Regions from separate parts of the Homo sapiens genome. Here regions 2, 3, 4 and 5 are each linked to region 1. Evidence: promoter capture Hi-C in human tissues and cell types (Jung and others, 2019). All regions are on one chromosome and are shown on one strand. Each heading gives the region's core, a stretch centred on a gene start or on the middle of the fragment in contact. The rest is flanking DNA. Distances are from core to core; before and after follow the strand shown. Region 1 holds the start of ZNF555 (zinc finger protein 555). Region 2 holds the start of GNA11 (G protein subunit alpha 11). Region 3 holds the start of TLE2 (TLE family member 2, transcriptional corepressor). Region 4 overlaps GNG7 (G protein subunit gamma 7). Region 5 overlaps GNG7 (G protein subunit gamma 7).

Evidence for each region. Contacts are between HindIII fragments. The study calls those that stand out against the background at their distance.
Region 2: a contact is called between the fragment with the promoter of GNA11 here and the fragment with the promoter of ZNF555 in region 1, in 5 of the 25 tissues and cell types used here (IMR-90 fibroblasts, aorta, pancreas and 2 more).
Region 3: the fragment with the promoter of TLE2 here is called in contact with the fragment with the promoter of ZNF555 in region 1 in 3 of the 25 tissues and cell types used here (bladder, lymphoblastoid cells and mesendoderm cells).
Region 4: a fragment that was not itself captured here is called in contact with the fragment with the promoter of ZNF555 in region 1 in 1 of the 25 tissues and cell types used here (IMR-90 fibroblasts).
Region 5: a fragment that was not itself captured here is called in contact with the fragment with the promoter of ZNF555 in region 1 in 1 of the 25 tissues and cell types used here (IMR-90 fibroblasts).

What each region holds. Positions count from the first base shown.
Region 1 is chr19:2,840,096-2,842,841 of GRCh38, forward strand. ZNF555 (zinc finger protein 555) reads left to right here and starts at 1,380. Exons shown (of 4, transcript NM_152791.5): 1 at 1,380-1,480. The coding sequence starts at 1,478. RefSeq lists silencers at 841-950, 961-1,150, 1,371-1,670, 1,711-1,760. The HindIII fragment of the contact is 15,507 bases long and covers 1-2,746 here.
Region 2 is chr19:3,092,981-3,095,726 of GRCh38, forward strand. GNA11 (G protein subunit alpha 11) reads left to right here and starts at 1,382. Exons shown (of 7, transcript NM_002067.5): 1 at 1,382-1,807. The coding sequence starts at 1,672. RefSeq lists silencers at 1,051-1,300, 1,321-1,440, 1,761-1,890 and enhancers at 1,187-2,174, 2,175-2,746. The HindIII fragment of the contact is 21,058 bases long and covers 1-2,746 here.
Region 3 is chr19:3,027,903-3,030,648 of GRCh38, forward strand. TLE2 (TLE family member 2, transcriptional corepressor) reads right to left here and starts at 1,378. Exons shown (of 20, transcript NM_003260.5): 1 at 979-1,378; 2 at 804-901; 3 at 417-480. The coding sequence starts at 1,002. The HindIII fragment of the contact is 30,131 bases long and covers 1-2,746 here.
Region 4 is chr19:2,664,445-2,667,190 of GRCh38, forward strand. The region is part of intron 1 of GNG7 (G protein subunit gamma 7); the gene reads right to left. Among named protein-coding and RNA genes, the nearest start is that of MIR7850, 35 kb to the left of the region's middle. The HindIII fragment of the contact is 9,228 bases long and covers 1-2,746 here.
Region 5 is chr19:2,687,350-2,690,095 of GRCh38, forward strand. All of the region lies in intron 1 of GNG7 (G protein subunit gamma 7), which reads right to left. Among named protein-coding and RNA genes, the nearest start is that of GNG7, 14 kb to the right of the region's middle. The HindIII fragment of the contact is 8,454 bases long and covers 1-2,746 here.

The sequences.
Region 1 (2,746 bases), core at 130-2,629:
GTTTCACCGTGTTAGCCAGGATGGTCTCGATCTCCTGACCTCGTGATCCGCCCGCCTCGGCCTCCCAAAGTGCTGGGATTACAGGCGTGAGCCACCGTGCCCGGCCTCAAGCGATTCTCTTGCCTCAGCCTCCCTAGCTGGGATTACAGGTGCGCGCCACCACGCCCGGCTAATTTTGTATTTTTAGTAGAGACAGGGTTTTGCCATGTTGGGCAGGCTGGTCTTGAACTCCTGACCTCAGGTGATCCGCCCGCCTCGGCCTCCCAAAGTGCTGGGATTACAGGCGTGAGCCACAGCGCCCGGCCAGCTTTTCAATCTTCCAAATTTTGGGGGGATGTACTTAAAAAAATGATCTGAAAACATTTTCCTTAGAGTTTAAAATATGAACTTGAGAGTTTTTTTGTTTTTTAATATGGAGTCTCACTCTGTCGCCCAGGCTAGACTGCAGTGGGGCGATCTCGGGTCACTACAACCTCCACCTCTCGGGTTCAAGCAATTCTCCTGCCCCAGCATCCCCAGTAGCTGAGATTACAGGCGCCCGGCACCACGCCGGGCTGATTTCTGTATTTTTAGTAGAGAAAGGGTTTCACCATATTGGCCACGATGGTCTCAAACTCCTGAACTCAGATGATCCGTCCACCTCGGTCTCCCAAAGTGCTGGGATTACAGGCGTGAGCCACTGCGCCCAGCCAAATGTGAGGGTTTTAATGAACATCTCATATCTTCTGGTTGATTTGAGCAAAGCTCCTGCCCCCTGCCAGGCTTTGGGTTCGGCCTCCCCCAGACCGGGTCTCCGGATTCGCAGCCCCCTGGGCGGGGTCTCCATGTCGCCCGCAGCGCGATGACGTCACGTCTGCGGGTCCCGCCCCCACGTAGGTCTCGGCCCTTCGGACCCGGCGCCCAGCCCCCGTTCGCCCTGCCAGGCCCGGGCCGCCCGCTTGCATCCACCTCCTGTCCGGACAAGGGGTCGCCTCGTGAGGAAACTAGTCTGGAGTTCCCACGCCCGTCCCGGAGGAGGACGCGGGCGGGGCGCCCGAACTGCGGGGAGAGGGCGATTCCGCCCCGGGCTGAAACCAGTTCGCCCAGAAGCCAGTGTCCCCGCAGGGCGGGACAGCCACGCGTGTTCGCAACGCTCCCGTCACTCACCGGCAGGGGGTGGGCCCTAGGGAACTACCCAGTCAGGACGGGCGGGGGCGGGGCCGAGACAAGTATCCAATGAGGGACGCCCAATCGGAATCCGGGGAACTGCCCAATTTACAGCGCCAGGGGACGGACTGGGGAATTCTCCAATCAGAGTCGCCGACGTTGGCAGCACTGTCCAATCAGAAGCGCGGCTTCCCGAGCTCTGTCTAATCAGGCCCCTGGGACGGGACGCCTCTGTCCTAGCCGTGAGTGCCCCGCCTGCCCCTAGCGGTCCCTGGCGTCCCGGTTCCTGTCGCGCTCACCTGCGCCGGTAGCGAAGAAATCGCCCCGGGACATGGTGAGTGTGGCGCAGGAGAGGATCCCGGTGCGGGGCAGCAGGAACCGGCGACCGCCCGAGACCGCGGCTTGGGGGGAGCTGAGGGACGCGGGGGGCGGCCCCGGCGAGGGCGGCGCAGGACGGGAGCCTGGGCCCCGGGGGTCCCGCCCGGCCCCGCCTCCCGCGCTGAGGTCGCGGCTAGGGCGCTCCGAGCTCCGGGTCCCCGCCCGCCTCTGGCCCCAAGGCTGCAGAGCGGGGAGCGGCGCCCGGAGCCCGACTCCGTCCCCGTCGTCCCGGGGTCCCCGCGTCCCTGCGCTCCCGACCCCCCACGCCCCGCCCGGGGCCGCGACGCCTCGGAGCGTTTCGCTGCGGCTTCGGGACCCCCGGGCCGCGGGAGGCAGAGTCGCCCGAGACCCCGAGGTGCGGTCCAGGCTCCCCCGGGACCCGCCCTGGGGCCGACGCCGCGGTGCCTCCTGGGGTGCGGGTCCCTGGTCGGTGCCGCCTCCGCTCGCGCTCCCGCGGCTCAGCTCCTTGGAGGCCCCGCGCCTCCGGCCGCGGTCTCTGGGGGACCCTGGGTTCCTCCCGGGACAGCCCGGGAGCGGTGGGGCCTCGGCGGGGGCGGAGACGCCCCCACCTGCAAAGGCAGCCCCTGGGGCGTGCGAGGTTTCCTCCCCTGAGTCCCGGTTTTCCTTCTTGAGGACTTCTTGTCCCCTCTGACCCCAAGATGCCTGGGGTAGGTAAGGGGAAAAAAAACAAGGGTTCCTGGTCCCTGGGCTCTCACACACAAGGAAGAAAAGTAACTGAAAAGACTAGAGAAACAAGGGAGAGCGAGGACCCCAAAAGCAAACGCACGCAGACCCACAGCGGGGACGCCCGGGAGGCTGGTGCATTAGTGTCCTCGGACTGCTGTAGCAACTGACTGCAAACGAGGGGGCTAAAACCACGGAAATATATTCTTTCACGGTTCCCTAGAAAGTGTGGATTTGAAGACGTTTCTCAGTTCTGTTTTGAGTACTAGCAATGGGATTCCTTGCTGAGGCAACACCTGAGTTGGGGGTGGGAGGGCGTCCGTCGTGGTAGCCTGGCCAGACTTGACCCCTCCCTGGGTTTGTCACTGTGAAAAGATTTTCCTTTTTTCGAGTCAGCAGTTTTTAGGAAGTGAAACGTACATTTAATTAGTAGAAGTTGGAAGATAAAATATTTCCAGGCCGGGCGCGGTGGCTCAAGCCTGTCATCCCAGCACTGTGACAGGCCGAGGGGAGCAGATTACTTGAGGTCAGGAGTTGG
Region 2 (2,746 bases), core at 132-2,631, 250 kb after region 1:
CACTAGAGCCTGTGAGGCAGAGGGTGCAATGAACCTAGATCACGCCCCTGCACTCCAGCCTGGGCGACAGAGCAAGACTCCATCTCAAAAAAAGAAGAAGAAAAAAAAGATATCCCTTGGGTAGGGTTAGCTTAACGGGCTTACAGCAGTGCCTGGTATCCTGTAGGCATTTCATGAATGCGTATACCTGGCCTGGAATGGTGCAGGCACTGCAGTAAGGCCTGATTGACACCTGATGGACAGCAGGCACTCCATTAATCTCTGGTCCGTGCCTGGCATATAGAATGTGTCCCATTAATGCCTGATACACAGTAGGTGTCCCATTAACGCTTTTTAATTTTTTTTTTTGAGACAGAGTCTCGCTCTGTCGCCCAGGCTGGAGTGCAGTGGCATGATCTCAGCTCACTGCAAGTTCCGTCTCCCGGGTTCACGCCATTCTCCTGCCTCAGCCTCCCGAGTAGCTGGGACTACAGGCGCCCGCCACCACGCCCGGCTAATTTTTTGTATTTTTAGTAGAGACGGGGTTTCACCGTGTCAGCCAGGATAGTCTCGATCTCCTGACCTCGTGATCCACCCGCCTCGGCCTCCCAAAGTGCTGGGATTACAGGCGTGAGCCACCGCGCCCGGCCCTCTTTTTTTTTTTTTTTCTTTGGAGACGGAGTTTCGTTCTTGTTGCCCAGGCTGGAGTGCAATGGCGTGATCTCGGCTCACTGCAACCTCCGCCTCCTGGGTTCAAGTGATTCTCCTGCCTCAGCCTCCCGAGTAGCTGGGATTACGGGCGTGCACCACCACGCCGGGCTAATTTTGTAGTTTTAGTAGAGACGGCGTTTCTCCCTGTTGGTCAGGCTGGTCTCGAACTCCAGACCTCAGGTGATCCGCCCGCCTCGGCCTTCCAAAGTGCTGGGATTACAGGCGTGAGCCACCGCGCCCGACCTCCATTAACGCTTTTTAATGGATGAGTGAAGGTTCCTGTCAGGCAATGTCAGGGCGCTTCCCGGGGGCAGCGACTGCTGCCCAGGCACCTGGAGACCCAGAGAGCGCAGCGGCCGCGTGCGCGCCTCCGCCACCGCGCCTGGGCCGAGCCGAGCGGGACCGAGCGGGGCCGAACGGAGCCGAGCGGAGCCGAGCCTGGCCGGGCCGAGTCCGCCACATTCCCACAATCCCGGGCGGCCCCGCCCCGGCTCCCGGCTGCGCGTCCCCCTTCCCACGTCGGCGCAACCAAACCCGCGGGCCCCCCGCCCTCGCCCCGCCCCGCCCCTTTCGCGCCCGCCGACGCCCCGCCCAGGCCGCTAGTCCCGCCCCCATGGTGGGCGCGCTTGGCCGCCGGCCCCTCCCATTGGCCGCACCGTCTGCCCGTCGCGGGCTGCGCTCCCAGCCTGCTAGGTTGTCCGGCGCTGTCGCTCGGTTGCGGCGGCTGCGGTTGGCGGTGGCTGCGGCGGCGGCGCGGGCTGAGTGCGGCCGCGCGGGAGTCCGCGGCTGGCGCGGCCCGAGCGGGGACCCGGCGGCTCGCCAGGCGGCGGCCGAGGCGGGGCGGGCCGGCCCGGGGCCGAGGGCCGGTGGCCGAGGCCGGAGGGCCGCGGCGGGCGGCGGCCGAGGCGGCTCCGGCCAGGGCCGGGCCGGGGGCCGGGGGGCGGCGGCGGGCAGGCGGCCGCGTCGGCCGGGGCCGGGACGATGACTCTGGAGTCCATGATGGCGTGTTGCCTGAGCGATGAGGTGAAGGAGTCCAAGCGGATCAACGCCGAGATCGAGAAGCAGCTGCGGCGGGACAAGCGCGACGCCCGGCGCGAGCTCAAGCTGCTGCTGCTCGGTGAGTGCGGCCCCCGGGCCTGCCGGCTGCGGGCCCTGCCCTGCCTGTGCCTGCCCTGCCTGTCCGGGTCGGGCCGGGACCCTCCGGGGTCAGCCCTGCCTGTGCCGTCCGGGTCGCGAGACCCTCCGGGGTCAGCCCTGCCTGTGCCTTCCCTGCCTGTCCGGGTCGCGGGACCCTCGAGTGTCAGCCCTGCCTGTGCCTTCACTGCCTGTCCGGGTCGGGGCGGGGCCCTCCGGGATCAGCCCTGCCTGTGTCGTCTGGGTCGGCTCGGGACCCTCTGGGGTCAGCCCTGCCTTTGCTGTCTAGGTCGGCACCTGGGACCCTCCGGGGTCAGCTGCGGGCCCCTGATTTCTTTGGGGTCAGCCCCTGCCTTAACTGTTCATGTTGGCACCTGGGACTCTCCGGTGTCAGCCTGTGTCTGTCCTGTCTGGATCAGGCCCCCGATCACTCCTAGGTCAGCTCCCAGCTTCTGCTGTCTACATTGGGCCTCCAGGACTCTTCAGGATTTGCCCTCTGTTCCTTCTCAAGGGACCAGTCCCTCCCTGCACAGGGACCTTCTGACCTTACCCCACCGGAGTACCCACCCCTCGCTACCCCTTCAGGGCCAGACCTTTGGGCTGTAACCCACAGGGCACACTCACCCCTCACTGCTCAGGGCCCCGCGTTGACCCTTCCCTCCAGGCAGAGCCCTGTACACTCCATGCAGGCCCTGTACCCTCCATGCAGGCCCTGTACACCCCCCCATCCCCCCGAAGACTCCTCCGTGTCCCCTATCCCCACATTCCCTTCAGGGCCATTCTCCTGCCTTCCTGTTCCGGGAAACCCCGTACTCCTCTTGGCTGGAATGCACCCTGTGGGAAAAAGACAGTCTTTCCTCTCCTCAGGGTTCCGCTCAGCTGAGGGTGGGGCGGTTGACACCTGAGGGAGCCTTTGCTTGTT
Region 3 (2,746 bases), core at 128-2,627, 190 kb after region 1:
TAGGGTGGAGATGGGTGCCCTCCTCCAGATAGGTGATGCCAGGGTCTTCCAAGAGTCCCCAGGTTCAGGGGAATCACAGCAGGAAGCAGAGCCCCCCCCAGCTCCACGGGGTCCCAGAGGAGGAAGCGGGGGCTCTGCCTGGAAGGGCCCCCTCTACTCTCCCCAGAGAGGCAGGGCAGGTAGGAAGTGTCCAGAGGCCCTGGCCCGACAGAGACTCCCATCAGGCGAGGGGTCCTCCCTGTCTCCCCATTCCCAGAGCTGGGAGGACCCTCCTAGAGAGCCTGAAATCCCAACCTGCCCAATGTACAGACGGGGAAGACGAGGTTCGGAGTGGGGCAGGGACCTACCCCAGAGTCCACCGTGACTCAAAGCCCTGCCCGCCTCTCCCCTCACCCTGGCATCATAAGTGCCCTCACCATGACATAATGTCGCTGCATTTCCGTCTTCTCGCTGGCCAGCTTCTCACATTCTAGCTTGAGGCTGAGAAGAAGAGAGAGGGCAAGGGGCTCCCACCCGCCCCATGTGGGCCGGCTTCCAAAGTGAGAGGCTGGATCTCCCCCTCCCGACTTCCTTACAGACCTCCCCCCACCTCCTGTCCCAGTCCCTCCCCGCCCCTTCCTGGGCTCCAAATGCCCCAGCTCTGACTGTCCCCAGACCCCTCTGCACCTGCGCTTCCACCTGGAGGCCTTTGTCGCGCCCCCCCTCCAACCGGGAGCCCCTCCTCCCCGCCCTATACCCCGGAGGCCTCGCCCCGCCCCGGCGCCCAGGTGAACTCCCGCGGCCCCTGGGGCGGCCCCCCTCACCTGTGGTATTGAGCCTGAAGAAACTGGAATTCTTCTTTGATGCGGTCGCAGATCTCCAAGATCGAGAACTTGAAGGGCTGGCCGGACTGGAGCGGGGTCTGGGGGGGGTGTGGGGGAAACGTCAGGGTCTGAGTTCCCGGACACTGGGGGCCCCCTCCCCGCAGTCCGCACTCACCGGGTGCCTTCCCTGGGGGTACATCCTGCCGATCCGAAAAGCCCCCCAGGCGCCACCAGAGCTTGATGATATGGAGGCGGCAAGAGTGGGGGAGGCTGAAGTGGGGTGGTGGGGAGGCTGCCCGAAGAAAGAGGGAGGAGGGAGAAGCGGCGCGGGGCAAGGGACCCTGGAGTCCCTGGCGCGCCCCCAAGCGCGCGCGCCCGGGGTCGTGGGAGCCCCTCCCCGGGTTGGGGTGCGCGGGGCGAGCGGGGCGGGCAGGGGCAGCGGCCGGGGCGGGAGCGCGGCGAGGGCGGCCGCGGCAGCCGGCGCAGAAGGTCGGGCGCGCCGCGGCCGGGTTTCGGTGGCGGCGGCGCGGGCGGCGGGCCCCGCGCGGAGCCGCCTCCCTCCGGCGGGGCTCGGCCGGGAGCCGCGGGCTGAGCCGCCTTAAGGTGGCGCCGCCGCCCCCACGCGCCCGCGGCCCGCCCCGCGCCCACCCCCGCGCACCGCCCCTCCCCGCGCCCGCGCCCCCCCCGGCCCCCGGGCACCCGCCCCCTTCCTTCAGTCCCTGGGCCGTTGGGGAAACTGAGGCCGGGTGGGGAGGCGCCCAGTGCCTTAAAACAGGGTCCCCACCCCCTCCCGGAGGGGCGGGAGAAGAAAAACCAGTGAAGAAATTCACACCGTGTTACCCACCGTGGGAGCGGGGGGGGGGGCTTGCGGGGAGCGGGGACCAGTCTGGAGTCGGAAATGGCTTTTCTGAGCAAGTGACATTGGGTTGAGATTGAAGGGTCAGCAGGACGCAGCCTTGCCAAGCGCTGGCAGGGAACCCTGCCAGAAAGGGAATCTCACAGCAAACACTGCTTCCCAGATCATGCCGGGCCCTCGCCCTCTGGGGGCCTCAGTAGTCTCTGCAAAAGGTCAGGGGTGGTGCGCTATCTTTAGGGTTTAATTTTTTGCAGAGATAGGGTCTCCCTGTGTTGCCCAGGCTGGAGTACAGTGGGGCAATCATGGCTCACTGCAGCCTCGAACTCCTGGGCTCAAGCGATCCTTCCCCCTCAGCTTCTCCAGTAGCTGGGACTACAGGTGTGCACCACCACGCCCAGCTAATTTTTTAATTTTTTGCAGAGATGGAGTAGGGGGGCGTCTCACTATGTTGCCCAGGCTGGTCTTGAACTCCTGGACTCAAGCCTCTCTCTTCGGCCTTCCAAAGTGCTGGGATTACGGGCGGGAGCCACCGCACTGGGCACTGCACTTAAATGAGATAGTGCATGAACGCTGTCAGCCTCTCCCTACACAGAGCAAACTTCCACAGATGGGAATTGTGTTCCTACTGCCATCACCAGTGGACTGGGCTGTCTCCCCTCTCAGACTGGGTTTCTTGAAGGCAGGAGCCGTGTCCCACTCAGAACTGGAAGAACCACAGCTCTGCCATCAGACTCAAGTCTCTCCCACGGCAAAGGCTCCAGCCCCGACCAGAGACCACAGACATCCAGCCAGCATCCTTCAGGCCCACCCGGGGAGTGGGAAGTTCTTATTCTCTTTGGAGAAACCTCAGGAGAGGTTTGTGAAGTCAATCAACAAACGTGTACTAAATGCATACTGTGGACCACACACTGCTGTAGACACTGGGGCACAGCTGGGAACAAAACAGAGAAAAATCCATGCCCCTTGATGACACTTGGACTTGTGTCCTTAGGTGATCGAGTACCTAATGGTACCTAAGGGTTAGGGTTACAAAAACCCATTTTGTACCCTTACAAAAGGGCACAAGAGCCCTTATCAATGGGCCAGG
Region 4 (2,746 bases), core at 178-2,677, 180 kb before region 1:
CTGATGACGGCCAGGCCGGGCGTGACCTGGAACAGGCTCCACTGCACCCTGGGGCACACAGAACAAAGGGGCAGGCCTGCTTGACCCTGAGGGTTCAAGGTCTCTGTGAGCCGAGGTCAAGGAGGGGGAAGGAACAATCAGACGGTTGGCTCTGTGTCCTGCACCCTCAGTGCTCTAGAGACCCTCCTCACCCAGTCCTCTAGGTCACTCTGGGAGGATGGCCCCGGCTGACACCGTCTGCCCCATCGGGAATCTATTCTGGTGTCTACTGTGAGCAGGGAGCAAACTCATTTTTTTGCCAGTTAATGCAAGGTCTCTCCCCTGGAAACCGTGGACATTCAGAGCTGGGTCATTCTCTAGGGTGCAGCTGTCCCGGACACTGCAGGGTGCTGAGCAGTGTCCCTGGCCTCCACCCACTCCACGCCACGACCATCCTCAAGTTGTGACAACGACAAATGTCCTCAGACAACACCCAGTGTCCCCTGGGGCAGAATCACCCTCAGTTGACACCCCCTGAATTAGGAAATTCCACGGACCCCCAAGATACTCTGTCCCCTGATCTTCTGTCCTGCTGAGGTCCCAGGAGGCTGCACACATTGAAATCCACACCTTTAGTTGGGGGGAGGGAGAGAGGAGGTGAATCCCACGAGCTGGGGTCCCCTGGTTTACACCGTCTGCCCCATCAGGAGTGTGTCCTGGTGAGCAGGAAGCAGACTCCATTTCTTCTCCAAATAATGAATGCTGAGTCTCTCCTCCCAGGCACGGTGGACACTGGGGCTGTACCATTCTCTGGGATGGAGCCGTCCTGAGCACTGCAGCACGCTGAGCGGCATCCGTGACCTCCAGCCACTGCATGCCCGGAGCACTTCTCAATGGTGACAGCCACAAATGTCCCCAGACATGGCCCAGTGTCCCCTGGGGGGGGGGGGGCAGGATCACCCTGCCGTGCTGGACAGTCCTCGCCACACCCCACCTCTTGGAACTGGAATGTCTGGTGAGACGGGCAACAAGGATTTGGGAAGAGGGCCATGCGGGACAAAAAAAAGAAAGAAAATGAGAACGAACGGATTTCTATTTCCCCTCAATGTGAAAATAGCTCCACTGAGTCCCGAGGAAGGATTGGGTGGGGACGTACGCTCTGGTATGGCCAAGGTGGAGTGCTGGACAAGAGCTACTCCATTCTGACTTCACGACTCGCTGTCTGGCTGGGTGACCTTCAGTCCCTTGCCACTGTCGCTGTGCCTCAGTTTCCCACTCTGTAGAATGCACATCGAAGCAGCATCCACCCTGTGAGACTGGTTTTGGAGATTACATAAATGAGTATCTATAAAATGTTTAAAGTGGTGTCTGAGCCATGGGTCATGGCACATACTGGCTTTATTATTTAGAACCTGGATTACCTCCTTTTATTATTCTTTTTCAATTTATTTTACTTATTTTTTGAGATGGAGTCTTGCTCTGTCATCCAGGCTAGAGTGCAGTGGTGCGAACTTGGCTCACTGCCTCTGCCTCCCGGGTTCAAGTGATTCTCCTGCCTCAGTCCCCCATATAGCCAGTATTAGAGGCGCCCGCCACCACGCCCAGCTAATTTTTGTATTTTTAGTAGAGACAGGGTTTCACCATGTTGGTCAGGCTGGTCTCGAACTCCTGACCTCAGGTGATCTGCCTGCTTCAGCCTCCCAAAGTGCCACCGTGCCCGGCTTATGTTTTAATTTTTATTGTATTTATTTATTCATTTTTATTTTGAGACAGAGTCTTGCTCTTGTCGCCCAGGCTGGAGTGCAGTGGCACGATCTCAGCTCACTGCAAACTCAGCCTCCCGGGTTCAAGGGATTCTCCTGCCTCAGCCTCCCGAGTAGCTGGGATTACAGGCACCTGCCAACATGCCCGGCTAATTTCTGTATTTTTAGTAGAGATGGGGTTTCGCCATGTCGGCCAGGCTGGTCTTAAACTCTTGACCTCAGGTGATCTGCCCACCTCAGCCTCCCAACGTCCTGGGATTACATAGGTGTGAGCCACCATGCCTGCTTTTTTAGTTTTTACTTTTCATAGAGATAGGATCTTGCTATGTTGCCCAGACTGGCCTTGAACTCCTGGGCTCAAGCGATCCTCCCTGCTCAGCCTCCCCAAGTGCTGGGATTACAAGTGTGAGCCACCTTGCCTGGCCAGATTACCTCCTTTCTGGACTAGACCAGAGCACAGCAAAGTGTTTCTGTCTAGGGCAGGATGTAAAAATTTTCAGCCTTACGGAACATATGTTCTCTGTTGCAGCTACACAGTTCTGCTGTTGTATTTTGAAAGCAGCCATAGACTATGCATAAATAAATGGGCATGGCCCATCGTGTGCCAATAAAACTTTATTTATAGTAACAGGTGGCCTGGATTTGCCCCCAAGGCCATTGGTTGAGACCCTCGCAAAACAGTCTAAGACAAAATAGCACCATTTCAGCAACTAAATACTCTCATCTAGGCAGTGTTCCAGTCTTCCATCCTGAAATTAGATGAGGGTCCTGTCAAAAAAGATTCACCTCCGATCCTCAACATCACACGGCAGAGTTAGCACAGAGCATCCCTTCACACAAAACACACACTCATCCGGGCGCGGTGGCTCACGCCTGTAATCCCAGCACTTTGGGAGGCTGAGGCGGGTGGATCACTTGAGGTCAGGAGTTCGAGACCAGCCTGGCTAACATGGTGAAACCCAACCCGTCTCTATTAAAAATACAAAAATCAGCCGGGCAAGGTG
Region 5 (2,746 bases), core at 175-2,674, 150 kb before region 1:
CTCACACCTGTAATGCCAGCACTTTGGGAGGCCGAGGCGGGTGGATCACCTGAGGTCAGGAGTTCGAGACCAGCCTGGCCAACATGGAGAAACCCTGCCTCTACTAAAAATACAAAATTAGCCAGGCATGGTGGCCCATGCCTGTAATCCCAGCTAGTTGGGAGGTTGAGGTAGGAGAATCGCTTGAGCCCGGGAGGCAGAGGTTGCGGTGAGCCGAGATCGCACCATTGCACTCCAGCCTGGGCAACAAGAGTGAAACTCCATCTCAAAAAACAAACAAACAAAAAAAAGTGCTGGCATGACAGGAGTAAGCCACCAGCCTGGCCAAGAAGTTTAAATCATGATGCCGGGCGCGGTGGCTCACGCCTGTAATTCCAGCACTTTGGGAGGCCGAGGCAGGCAGATCACATGGTCAGGAGTTCGAGACCAGCCTGGCCAACACGGCGAAACCCCATCTCTACTAAAAATACAAAAAATTAGCCGGGCAAGGTGGCACGCACCTGTAATCCCAACTATTTGGGAGGCTGAGGCAGGAGAATCAGTTGAACCTGAGTGAGCTGAGATCGTGCCACTGTACTCCAACCTGGGCAACAAGAACAAAACTCTGCCTCCAGATAAAATAGCCGGGCGCGGTGGCTCACGCCTGTAATCCCAGCACTTTGGGAGGCCGAGCTGGGCAGATCACAAGGTCAGGAGATCGAGACTATCCTGGCTAACACGGTGAAACCCCGTCCCTACTAAAAATAACAAAAAATTAGCCGGGCATGGTGGCGGGTGCCTGTAGTCCCAGTTACTCGGGAGGCTGAGGCAGGAGAATGGTGTAAACCCAGGAGGTGGAGCTTGCAGTGAGCCAAGATCGCGCCACTGCACTCCAGCCTGGGCGACAGAGCGAGACTCCGTCTCAACAAAAGAAAAAAGAAATCATGATGCAAAGATGAAAAGCAAAGTTTGCCGTACGAAGGATGGAGTCGGTGTCAGTGCTCTGGGGAAGTGGGGAGTTCCCTCAGCAAGAATGACCTCAGAGTAGCTGGTAGGTGGGCTAAGGCCACCTGGGCTGGGAGAACCAGGTTAACAGCACCAGTAGGAAGTCACCAGGGTCTCAAGGATCCCCAGCAGGGAGAGAGCAACAGGGCACCTCACCCCTACGTGTTCTTTCCCGAAACCCGTAACCCCGGTCTGATCACGAGAGAAATATCTGACAAACCTAGATCAGAAGTAAGTCTGCACAATACCCAGCCGGTCCCCCTAAGACCGTCCAGGTCACGAGAGGTAACGAACATCTAAGACATGGTCCCAACCTGGAAGAACCCCCGGAGACGAGCCGGCTAAATGTCACGTGGGATTCTAGATGGGTCCTGGGGCAGGAAAGGACATTAGGGGAAGATTAATGACATTTGAATAAAGTGTGGAGTTGAGAGAAATGAACCCATTGTTAGCCGGGCACAGTGGCTCCCGTCTGTCCTCCTAACACTTTGGGAGTCCGGGGTGGCAGGATCACTTGTGTTCAGGAGTTCGAGACCAGCCTAGGCAAAATAGCGAGACCTCATCTCTACAATAAAACAAAAATTAGCCAGGCACGGGGTTGCGTGCCTGTGGTCCCAGCTACTCAGGAGGCTGAGGTGGGAGGATCGCTTGAGCCCAGGAGTTGGAGGCTACAGTGAGCCATGATCACTCCACTGCACTTAGCCTGGGCGACAGAGTAAGACTCTGTCTCAAAAAAAAATGTAAATGTAAATTTAAAAAATATTACTTTTAATGGCAAAGACCACAATTATGTTTGCCCCAACATAATAAATACATACAATAAATAAATAAATAAGAAAAAAATAAACAAAAATAAAAATAATGCAAAAAAAAAGGGGGAAAAAAATGCCAATCATACTATGCATGGCACCGTGTTATAGGGGAAAAAAAATAATTATATAAAATTGTTCCCAAATCATTAAGCCCTTCTCATTATGGAGGCTACAGGAATAAACGCTCCTAACAAGACCACATTTGGGCCGGGCTCGGTGGGCCTCCCAGCACTTTGGGAGGCCAAGGCGGGTGGATCACCTGAGGTCAGAAGTTCGAGACCAGCCTGGCCATCATGGTGAAACCCCGTCTCTACTAAAAATACAAAAAATAGCCGGGTGTGGTGGTGGACGCCTGTAATCCCAGCTACTCAGGAGGCTAAGGCAGGAGGATCACTTGAACCTGGGAGGCGGAGGCTGCAGTGAGCTGAGATGGCGCCATTGCACTCCAGCCTGGGCTACAGAGTGAGACTCCAACTCAAAAAAAAAAAAAAAAAAAAAAAAAAACCATATTCGATGCAATTCTCTGAAGTTAACTGTTAGAGCTCTGACAACACAGAGGCTGAAATGACATGACAAATGCTAAAGTACAAAGTTCCAAGATCAAGTCCCAGCATGACCACTAACTCGTGAAACCTCCAGACCTCAGTTTTCCCATGCATAAAGCGTGCGAGATGGACTCGAGGGCCAACACGCTTTTTCGGTAAGAGTCCAGATACCCAGTGTTTTCAGCCTTGCGGTGGAGCCACTCTCTACGGCAACGACTTAACTACACCATGGTAGCAGAATACACAGAGCAGTGTGCCAATAAAACATTATTTCTGGACACTAAAATCTGAATGCCATATAATTGTCATGTGTCATGGCCTTTTCTTTGACTTTTGTTTTTTGCTTCTTTTGGCGGCGGGTAGAAGCAGGGCTTCCTTTGACTTTTTTTTCCAACCATTTAAAAA